Linked DNA regions of Homo sapiens: regions 1, 2 and 3 are each linked to region 4. Evidence: promoter capture Hi-C in 16 types of primary human blood cells and fetal thymus (Javierre and others, 2016). All regions are on one chromosome and are shown on one strand. The core of a region is centred on a gene start or on the middle of the fragment in contact, and the rest is flanking DNA. Distances in the headings are between cores, read along the strand shown. Region 1 overlaps SLU7 (spliceosome associated SLU7). Region 2 has its middle 10 kb from the start of PTTG1. Region 3 has its middle 8.3 kb from the start of FAM200C. Region 4 holds the start of CCNG1 (cyclin G1).

Evidence for each region. Contacts are between HindIII fragments. The CHiCAGO score rates a contact against its expected background, and 5 or more counts as called.
Region 1: a fragment that was not itself captured here is called in contact with the fragment with the promoter of CCNG1 in region 4 in 13 of 17 cell types (non-activated CD4 T cells, naive CD4 T cells, total CD4 T cells and 10 more); the score reaches 26.4 in non-activated CD4 T cells.
Region 2: a contact is called between a fragment that was not itself captured here and the fragment with the promoter of CCNG1 in region 4, in 15 of 17 cell types (M0 macrophages, total CD8 T cells, total CD4 T cells and 12 more). The highest score is 28.0, in M0 macrophages.
Region 3: a contact is called between a fragment that was not itself captured here and the fragment with the promoter of CCNG1 in region 4, in 6 of 17 cell types (non-activated CD4 T cells, naive CD8 T cells, activated CD4 T cells and 3 more). The highest score is 17.4, in non-activated CD4 T cells.

What each region holds. Positions count from the first base shown.
Region 1 is chr5:160,410,579-160,413,278 of GRCh38, forward strand. It overlaps SLU7 (spliceosome associated SLU7), which reads right to left. Exons shown (of 16, transcript NM_006425.5): 6 at 1,873-1,941. Among named protein-coding and RNA genes, the nearest start is that of SLU7, 7.2 kb to the right of the region's middle. The HindIII fragment of the contact is 2,367 bases long and covers 221-2,587 here.
Region 2 is chr5:160,430,672-160,433,410 of GRCh38, forward strand. No RefSeq gene overlaps it. Among named protein-coding and RNA genes, the nearest start is that of PTTG1, 10 kb to the left of the region's middle. RefSeq lists an enhancer at 1,759-1,848. The HindIII fragment of the contact is 3,173 bases long and covers 1-2,739 here.
Region 3 is chr5:160,390,407-160,393,106 of GRCh38, forward strand. No RefSeq gene overlaps it. Among named protein-coding and RNA genes, the nearest start is that of FAM200C, 8.3 kb to the right of the region's middle. The HindIII fragment of the contact is 4,404 bases long and covers 1-2,700 here.
Region 4 is chr5:163,436,285-163,438,984 of GRCh38, forward strand. CCNG1 (cyclin G1) reads left to right here and starts at 1,311. Exons shown (of 7, transcript NM_004060.4): 1 at 1,311-1,520. It also overlaps a transcript of LOC105377700 not described here. RefSeq lists enhancers at 916-965, 1,407-1,984, 1,676-1,875 and a silencer at 1,156-1,235. The HindIII fragment of the contact is 4,161 bases long and covers 46-2,700 here.

The DNA of each region.
Region 1 (2,700 bases), core at 154-2,653, 3.0 Mb before region 4:
AATCCAAGCATCCAAGTGGGCAAAAATCATTAGCCCCTTACATACATTAAGTATCCTTACTGGGGAAATAAATTACATTACGTTTACAACAAACAACAGAGAATACATTAGAACAAAAGAAACAGGCCCTTTTTCTTTTCCCAAAGTTAGTAATAAATAAAAATAATCACAACAATAATAGCTACTAATTACCCAGTGTTTACTATGTGATATGTATATAAGCTTCCTGGGGGTAGGTGTTATCATTTCTATTTCAGACATACTAAACTGCAGCTCAGAGAGGCAAATTCACTTTTTTTTTTTTTTGAGACGGAGTCTCACTCTGTCGCCCAGGCTGGAGTGCAGCGGCATGATCTTGGCTCACTGCAAGCTCTGCCTCCTGGGTTCACCCATTCTCCTGCCTCAGCCTCCCGAGTAGCTGGGACTACAGGCGCCCGCCACCGCGACTGGCTAATTTTTTGTATTTTTTAGTAGAGACGGGGTTTCACCGTGTTAGCCAGGATGGTCTCGATCTCCTGACCTTGGGATCCACCCGCCTTGGCCTCCCAAAGTGCTCGGATTATAGGCGTCAGCCACCGCGCCCGGCCGGCAAATTCACTTTTCTAAGAGCATGTATGTCTCATGGAGCAGAGATGGATTTTGTTATTGATTGACTGATTGACTGATTGATTGAGATAGAGTCTCGCTCTGTCATCCAAGCTAGAGCACAGTGACGTGATCTCGGCTCACTGCAACCTCTGCCTCCTGGGTTCAAGCGATTCTCCCGAGTAGCTGGGACTACAGGTGCTCGCCACCACACCCAGCTAATTTTTGTATTTTTAGTAAAGATGAGGTTTCACCATGTTAGCCAGGCTAGTCTCGAACTCCTGACCTCAGATGATCCACCTGCCTCGGCCTCCCAAAGTGCTGGGATTACAGGTGTGAGCCATTGTGCTCGGCCAGAGATGGATTTTAAACACCTATCTGGTAACTTACAATGTTAACTTGCCTGGTAGGTTACCTTAGTAACTCGGTAACTGCTTACTTGGTAATTATTTCAAGTTCTGTTTGCTTTGTTACTTATACATGGTTTAGAGTCCCTTTTAGAAATTTAAACTAAAAAACTATAAATGTTTACTATTTATTTGTGCCTAGATTTGTTAAAAAGAAACTTGACAACTCTAATATGCATAATATATTTACTCTATTGACAAGGATTTTTAAAAAAGAAAAAAAAACTGGCTGCAATAGACCTTTCATTCATATAAAAAATGTTTTGCCCAGTTATATAACTAATACATATTCATTGTGGGAAATGCAGAAAATACTAAAGAAATAGAAAGAAAAATTCATAAATTCTACATTAAATAAAAACTAGTGTTCTGGTCTTTTTTTCTGTGTGATAATATTATACTATCTTTTCATGTATTATTCAAATACAAGTGTTAACCAGTGTTGTTAATGAAGTCTTGAGAAATGCCATTTTAAGAACTACACAGCATTACACCATGCAGATGCACTTAACCAATTCCCTGTTCCTGGACATTTAAGCTATTCCAATTTCTTTACTATTGTGAAAAATGCTGTACTATCTTTATGCATCATGATTTTTCTAAACTCTAGAAAATTCTTTAGGATGGATAGCTTTAATAATTTAACTTGAAAAAGTAAATGTTTGTGTGTGTCTAAATATAAATAGTGGCAATATTGTTCCCAAACTGACTGCATCAATTTATATTACTATGAACTGTATACAAAGTATCAGTTTTATTTTTCCCCCAATAGCATTTCTCTCTTCCTAACTGAAGAGCTATAAAATGAATTCTTGTTTCAATTTTCATTTCTTTGTTTAAAAGAAATAAAACCTTTTTATTGATCATTTTCATTACTTACAGCCTGTTCCACTAATTTTCCTGAGGCTAATTCCTCTTGGAGTTTCTGGGCTTTCAATGTTCGTTTTGCCTTTAAAAAAAAAAAAAAGAAAGAAAGAAAGAAAAAGTAAACATTTAAATTTTACTTACAACATTCAAGTCACCACCTAAATTTTTATATATTTAAAATGAATAACTTTAAATTAATTTATTTCAGAAAAGGTCACTGAACAAACCTATCTCTTTGGGATTCCTTGTAGCCCTAGACCTATTACTCTATAAAGAGCAGGAGTTACACAGTGTTTGAACCAGGCATTAATGTAAACTGAGCCAAATGGCATCAGTAGTAAATTGCAGGGAGCAAGCCCTGACAAAAACAAGCAGTTGCCACAGAACTCTAGATGACTGACTCTTACCAGGCAGGCGTGGGGTTACCATATATTACAATATTCAAGAAAAGATGAAATCCAGATTTTTATATGAAATCTTATAATTTTAAAATGATACCTCTAATTAAAAAAAAAAGGCAGTGTGACTATGACTTCAAAGGAATAAGGGTGAATAGGTCAAATCATAACAGTAAAAACTGAAGTTGGGTTAAAATAAAATAAAATTTTCTGAAACAAATTATCCATTCCCTTTCTACTACTCCCAAATGCTATGGGAGGCAACTATAAAATAGGTTCATGGGCAAGCTATAGCTTGGGGCCATACATTTCTAACCTCACAAAACCAAAAGCTTTGGACACTAATCTGTCTTCATGCTTCCAATATCTTTTGCTACCTAAGTCAGGGAGTAAAGGACCAATATAAGAATCAAATAAGAAGAAACTGCTGGCAAGTATGGCTA
Region 2 (2,739 bases), core at 103-2,602, 3.0 Mb before region 4:
GCTATTTTGTTCTGACACTTTTTGAAATAAGACAGACTTTATTCATACCTTTACAACTCTGTAAACCTTCTGCATTTCTCTACACTACCTCTGAGCCTGCCTCTCAGGATACTGTACCTTCTTATAGTAGGAGCTAACAGTCAGGAATGCCATTATCTTGCTACCATTTCTTCTTTCTTATTACAAGTTGTATTTTTCTACTTTCCATGCCAGCCATGGATTTTACCTTTTTTCATGCTGGGTATTTTTACATTTCTATTAATATTCTTAAACTTTGTTCTAGAGTATGGGTAAGGTACCTAGAAGCAATTTGATTCATTTGAGACTTGCCTTTAATGTTAGGCATCACCAGAGCAGCATTTAGCCCAGGGCTCATTTCCCCCTACTACTGAAGTGTGAGATGCTTAGGACTCTGCTGCCCCCTGAATTATGAGGTTTTCCTGTCTAGCTGGTGGGAGCAGACACTATTCCCAGCCCTGTGTGGGCTTCAGGAATTCTTCCCTCTGATCTTTTCAGCTATATGGATCAGTGCTCTTCTGAATACTACAGGGAGACCCTCTGCAAATTTCCAGGGTTCTCTCTGTGCAGCTCTCTCCTCTCCAGTGCTCTGCTCTGCAAACTTGGCCTGCCTTGGCCTGACTCTGCTCTGTCTCTTCAACTCAGGAAATTCACTGGGCTCTGCCTGCCTCCCTTTCTTCCCCACTCTGAGGCCTGGAAACTCAAAAGTAGCCAGTAAGGATAGTCATCGGCCTCACCTCACTTATTTCACATTCCTCAGGCATCGCTGTTCTCTGTCGCCTGATGTTCACTCTTTGGGCAGCCCTCATTTCATATATTTTGTCTTGTTTTTTAGTTTCAGGCAGGAGAGTAAATCTGGTCCCTGTTACTCCATCTTGATTGGAATTGAAAGTTCCTTCTAGATATTCCTTTCATTTTTTTTCTTTTTTGAGACGGAGTCTTGCTCTGTCGCCCAGGCTGGAGTGCAGTGGTGCAATCTTGGCTCACTGCAAACTCCACCTCCCGGGTTCATGCCATTCTCCTGCCTCAGCCTCCCGAGTAGCTGGGACTACAGGCGCCCACCACCACGCCCAGCTAATTTTTTTTTTTTTTGTATTTTTAGTAGAGACAGGGTTTCACCGTGTTCGCCAGGATGGTCTCGATCTCCTGACCTCGTGATCTGCCGGCCTTGGCCTCCCAAAGTGCTTGGATTACAGGCGTGAGCCACCATGCCCGGCCTTTTTTTTTTTTTTGAGGTAACATTCACATAAGAAAATTCATTTAAAAATGTACAATTCAGTGGCTTTTAGTTCAGAGTATATGCAACTATCACCACTGTCTAATTTCAGAACACTTTCATCACCCCCAAAAATAAACCCATGCTCATCAAGCACTCATTCCCCACTTCATTTACTTTGGAATGATGTCCCTCTGCCACCAGGATGAAGTCTGAGTTGCTCAGTGTGGCTCACACGGCCTTGTGGTGGCTCCTTGGGGGTGTAATTTCCTGTCCTGATTCACCTGGCCAAACCTGTCCATCTCTAGTACTCCAATGAGATGCTTTTCTTACCAGAAGCCTTTGCACTTACCATGCTCGGCTGTGTCTGGTCCTCTCCTCCGCTCTACTGGGAGCAGGATGAGGTGTGTCCTGTGCACTGGTGTATTCTCTGCCTGGCATGTGGCAGGTGCTTCAGGGACTTGCTGAAATGAGTAAAGATGTCATCAGTCCCTGGGGATCCAGGTTTCTAGAGACCCAGCGACTGCACTGTACCCACTGTTAGCATCACACGGTATCAGGGCCAGGGAGCCTGACTTCAAGGTTTCCAGAGAGAGAGTGGTGGGGGCAGGCACAGGTCTAGGAGGTCAGCTTCTCCTACCCTAGACAGTTCCTGGTCACCTGTCTGTCTGTGCCCCACCAAGCCCAGGTATAACCTGTTTACTGAGAAGCTCCAGCTCTGCTGGGGAAACATAAACTGAGTTTCTTTCTTTTTTTATTGCCACCAACTGTGTTTTGTTGACCTGTTCTCCTTTCCTCCTTTCTGGGTGGTGGGTGATGCTGAGCAGCATTCAGACAGATTTCATAGCTTTCCAGTTACTTTTGGTTAAAATTAAACTTTGCTTATTTTAAAACTTGAGGTTCACACCTATTTCAGGCTCTTCTCCCTCTCCCCTAGTACAGGCGAGGGCTTGGCAAAAGCCCATGTGTATGCTCTGCTCACCACACATGTCCCTTCTCCCCTTCCGGTGTTATGACCCTCATAGGGGCTTAGTCCAGCCCCAAGCCTGGGAGGACGGCTGGAGGGAGAAAAGAGTCTGCTCGTGTGACAGGCCACTTGTTGGTTATGGGAAGTGTGCTGGCTTCGTTCTGGCTGTTGTGCTCTGCACGATGCTGGTGGCCTCTGCTCATGGGGAGGTCCTTGTGTAGAGAATCACCCTCTTCTCCACGGCTGAAAACCCTGTCCCTCCTGAGAATGGCAGCCTGCCTCTCTTCCCACACCTTTCCCAGGTGGGCCCTTCTATTCCTTGGTCCAGGGGCTGTCCAAGGCCTCTGCCCTTCCATGATTAACCACTGGGATCTTTTCCATCCCCTTTGAGGGCTGCAGAACCAGGATGGGGTGAAGGTTTCCCTGCAGGCCTGGGTACTCCAGCAGGTCCCCACCGTGAGAAATCTCTGGACCAGGAGCAGGTGCCAATCTTTAAGTTGCAGTGAGTCTCTACATGCCGATGATCCTCTCCTCCCCG
Region 3 (2,700 bases), core at 95-2,594, 3.0 Mb before region 4:
GCATCTGTAATCCCAGCTACTTGGGAGGCTGAGACAGGAGAATCTCTTGAACCCGGGAGTGGAGGTTGCAGTGAGCCGAGATCACGATCACACCACTGCACTCCAGCCTGGGTGACAGAATGAAACTCCGTCTCAAAAAAAAAAAAAAAAAAAAAATTGAGATATAATTCAAGTATCATCAAGTTCACTCTTTAAAAGTATAAGTTAGCCGGGTGCGGGGGCACATGCCTGTAACCCCAGCACTTTGGGAGGTCGAGGCGGGTGGATCACGAGGTCAGATCGAGACCATCCTGGCTAACATGGTGAAACCCCCTCTCTACTAAAAATACAAAAAAATTAGCTGGGCGTGGTGGCGGGTGCCTGTAGTCCCAGCTACTCAGGAGGCTGAGGCAGGAGAATGGCATGAACCCAGGAGGCGGAGCTTGCAGCGAGCCAAGACGGCGCCACTGAACTCCGGCCTGGGCGACAGAGCAAGACTCTGCTTCAAAAAAAAAAAAAAAAAAAAAAAAAGTGTAAGTCTATTTGGTTTTGCTTCCCATTGGCTCATGCCTGAAAATGCTGACCTATTATTTACTAACTTTCAGCAGTTTTTGGTGGCTTAGACAAACAGTGAGGATGTCAAAAATGCACACGCTTGTATTACAGAAAAAGTCATTGATATTTTCTTTCCCACCTGGGTTTCCCAGTGATTTCTTGCAGTCTCATGGTTACCGGCTCCAACAGAGTTCTGCCTGCCAGTTTTCAGTCCACAGAGGCTCAGGTAAGGAATTTTAAATTTGAGCCACTAGTACCTTTTCTAGAGATGTTTAAAATCAGCTATTTGGCAAAATCTGTAATGTGAGTAAAGTTGCTTTCTCATTCAAACCTATACAGAGAGTGACATCTGCTGGTCATGAAGATTATGTTTTTATTCTATTTTACTCCTTTTCAAAATTTATCAATGACTCTAAAATAAAACATAAGAAAAGTAATTATCTCTTCTTTGGGAAAAAAGAAACCAACACATGACTAAAAATTCCAATATATGTACCACTGTGGGACATTTTTAAACTAAAAAAAATTGAAATTCCTTCATTTTAGCAAACACTGCAGCTCTTTCATTTGATCAGGAGAAAATAAAATTGTTGTAGAATTTGAAAATGAATAAAAATCCTAGTTAGCCATTTCCTTAAAAATGTCCTTTGAGTTTTTGTTTCAGAGCAGCAATAACTAATTTAGTCTAAGACCTAATGAAAGACTGGCTATCAAAGGTCATTTAATCCTGGTCCTTCTATCATACTATTAAATCCTAGGTTTCATACATGCCCATGTCCCTATTCCTACCTCCTTCCTAACTTTAGAATTGCATACAGATTAAACTTTATATACACACATCTAGATTTTTTTTTTTTTTTTGAGATGGAGTCTCACTCTGTCACCTAGGCTGGGGTGCAGTGGCACAATCTCAGCTCACTGCAACCTGTGTCTCCTGGGTTCAAGCAATTCTTCCGTCTCAGCCTCCTGAGTAGCTGGGATTATAGGCGCATGTCACCATGCCTGGCTAATTTTTGTATTTTTAGTAGAGGTGGGGTTTCACCATTTTAGCCAGGCTGATTTCGAACTCCTGACCTAGTGATCCGCCCACCTTGGCCTCCCAAAGTGCTGGGATTACAGGCATGAGCCACCGCACCTGGCCTACACATCTAGATTTCCATATTAGCTTTGGAAATTTTTCTGTCTTTGATGTTAGATTGTAATAGGAAAATTAGGACCTATATTCTGTTACTACATTTTTCAGTGAAAAAAGGTGTGTATTTATACTTACTGATAAAATATAAACTTTGATTTGCGTACTAATGTGGCATCTAAATTTGGTAGTCAGGTTCCATTTCCCTTCAGGTTTATTTTTTATTTTTCAGTATTATAAAAGTGTTCTGATTAGCCACCTTATAAGTAAAACTTTTGGACATTCCTGATTCTTTCCACATGATAAATTTATAGAGGAAAAATTCTTAATCAAAGGGCTATAAATAACCAACAAAGAGACTAACATTAGTGTAATAATAATAAAAAATTGAGAGTAGTAGGAGATGGATATTTTATAAATTCAATCCTTACATATTATCTAGGGGAGTCAATATATAACTTTTAAAGCTGATTCAACTGCTATATGTCATGGTATGAACATACTACTTAAGAGATGTGGGTGGAACCACAAGAAATTACAGAAGAAATGGGTAATTGGGCAGGAAGGGGATTGTGGCTTTTCCTTATAGGACTCTCTATATCATTTTTTCCCAGCCTTGAGCATGTAGTACTTTGATAAAATATTAATGTTTAAAAATAGAAATGAAAATTTATTTAAATTAAAAAATATTTTGCCAAATTATCATCCAGAAAAAGTGTGCTAAGTTAGATTCCCATGGGGAATTTTTTGATGGTCTTGAATTACTCCATTGATTTCATGTCAATTTATTTATGATTTATACTCTGACATTTTGAACTTAGAAAAATACATATAAGATGTAATATAAGTGACAAAATTAGGGTAAAGGAAAAATAAGTATAGGAAAAATTGAACCCAGAGGACCCAAGAATCCAAGAATCCATCAGAACAGTCTGGAAAGCTGGTTATGAATGAGGATCCTTGACCTTATCACAGGCCTACTAATCACAATCTCTAGGGTAAGGCTCAGGAATCTCCTTTTCAGCAGCCTTGAT
Region 4 (2,700 bases), core at 61-2,560:
TCACTTGTTAAAGGTTATAAATTGCCAATTTATATTCACTAGGTAAGCTTTTATTTTCAAAAGGAACAAAGGCCTCTTCCCCATTTGAGCCCCAGTTTCTTAAACTGACCTGATTATGTGGCTAAGGTATTATTGTGAGGTATTGATGTTTTCTCCTGTTTTTCCTTCCCCTTCCTCCCCACCCCTTTTCCCCCTTTCCAGAGTTTTGTTCTGTGGCATTGCCTTGGGTAAGTACACGGCAGGGCAAATAGCAGAGTGACGGCAAATCTTTCAGATTTTCACTTTTTCAAAGTAAGAGAGACCGAACTGGGGCCATGAGAACAGAGACATCCAACTACTGTGTAATTCATAAGAGTTTAGAAATGACTCCTTGTGCACCCTTTTTCAGGCCCTTTTACAAATGGACTTTTCTCACTTGTGATGATCTGGGAGAGTGAGAGTGAGGAGAGTCTAAGAAGAGTTCAGGCTAATTATTTTCCCACTAATCTGGCATAGGAGAGGCTCACAGAGATTAAATTCATTATGGTAAATACAAAGAGTAATACTGCTTTACACTCGGGTCTGTAGACTGAGATTCACACTCACCACAATTATTCCTGTTAACAGTCTGCCACATACCTTTCATTTTAAGCAACTGAAAAATTGTACCAACTTTTCTCTTTAAATTTGCTTTAAAAGCAAATTCAGAAAATTGGTAGAGGGTCAAGAAATTACACAGTCCAACTCCATTATTTGATAAATTGTATAAAAAGCAAACTAAGGCAAGAATCAACTGACTTCCAAAGTTCACGAAGAGAGCACTCTGGAAGTTGATAAACCACCAAACCATATAAATTCCACCACCTCTTTATCTGTAATTAAAAATCAAAGGTTGACTTTTTTTTTTTTAACTACTCACTGTATTTTTAGAAAGATGGGGCAGAACCACTGTAGAACTCCTAAACCCCACAGAACAAACAGTACATTCTGGAATGATACGCCGGCCAATCCGGCTGGCAGCCGATTGACCTGACCCAGGCGAGGGTTGCTGCACCGAGTATTTAGTTTGGCCCCCTACTGAATGAAGACACTTTGTTAAATTCTCCAATGAGAGACGCTTAGAGGTAGGGGCGTGGAAGGGGGCCGGGGAATTTGAGGCCAGATAACGGGAAGTGTGAGCCGATTGGCCGGACTTCTCACTCCACGGCCCAGCCGTTTACGGATCGCGGAGGCCATCCATCAAAAGAATTACACCAATCAGCGGCGAAAATGCCCCCTTCTCGCGAGAAAGCCCCGCCCTCCAATATATTCCTCGTTAGGGCAGGCGCGGCCCCTTCGGCTCCGAGCTGACCCTGATCAGGGCCGAGTTGTCTCGGCGGCGCTGCCGAGGCCTCCACCCAGGACAGTCCCCCTCCCCGGGCCTCTCTCCTCTTGCCTACGAGTCCCCTCTCCTCGTAGGCCTCTCGGATCTGATATCGTGGGGTGAGGTGAGCAGGCCCGGGGAGGGTGGTTACCGCTGAGGAGCTGCAGTCTCTGTCAAGGTGAGTGGGACTGCGCGGGAGTTGACCGCCAGGTGCGGGTGGGGAGCTGGGTTGGGGGCGCGGGGCGAGGAGTAGGTCTGGCCCGCGCCCTTTTCCACACTAAACTCTACCGCTGTTGTGAGCACAAGCCCAGGCTAGTCCGAGGCTGGAGGGGCGGAGCCGGATCCGGCCTCCTGAGGTGCCTTTCGTGTCTGCCGACCCAGTCCCAGGGACTAGCCTGGGGAGGAAGAATGGAACCCCTGCAGTTAGAGGTTCCTCACATGACTAGCTCTGAAGACCTCCTGCCTTCCTGTCTTTAGTTGGTGTGGGAGGGACCTTCCATGTATCCAGGGCTTAGCTTGTGCCCGGGACATGGTTGTGTTATGCACACTTAAATCAATGGAATTCCCAGGTTCATCTTTCAGACTAGGTTAGCAACAACCCACCGCACCCCCCCGCCCCAATACGTGCTCCTAATGTCACCTTTTAAGTTTCCTTTCCTAACAACAATAAAAGTTAAGTAATATTGAGTATTGTGTGCCAAGCACTGTGCTATACTCTTTAAGTGGTGAATCATCTTGTTCAGTCTTCACATTCAGCGACAGATATTGTTACCCTCATTTTATAAATCTAGAAAGAAGCTCAAGCTCATTATTATTGTTCAGTGTTTTTTAAGCGTCTACTGTATGTGCTAAGCTCTTTACGTGATTTCATTTTAACTCACAAATCTGTGAGGTAGGTCATAAACCTTATCCCTACTTTATCAATGTGGAACTAAGTACAATTAAGTAACTTGAACAGTTCATTTTGTTAATATGTGGCAGAATACTTAACTACCATCTGCTTTTCACTTTCGGTATCCTGTCTTACGGTGTTTATTCGTGGTTATCTATTGACAGTGAATAACTTGAACAAGTATTTCTTGAAGATTTGCATTTTATTTTTCTAAAAAGCATGGTTCCGACCGGGCGCGGTGGCTCACGCCTGTAATCCCGGCACTTTGGAAGGCCGAGGCGGGCAGATCACAAGGCCAGGAGACCGAGACCATCCTGGCCAACATGGTGAAACCCCGTCTCTACTAAAAATATAAAAATTAGCTGGGCGCGGTGGCGCATGCCTGTAATCCCAGCTCCTCGGGAGGCTGAGGCAGGAGAATCGCTTGAACCAGGGAGTCGGAGGTTGCAGTGAGCCAAGATCGTGC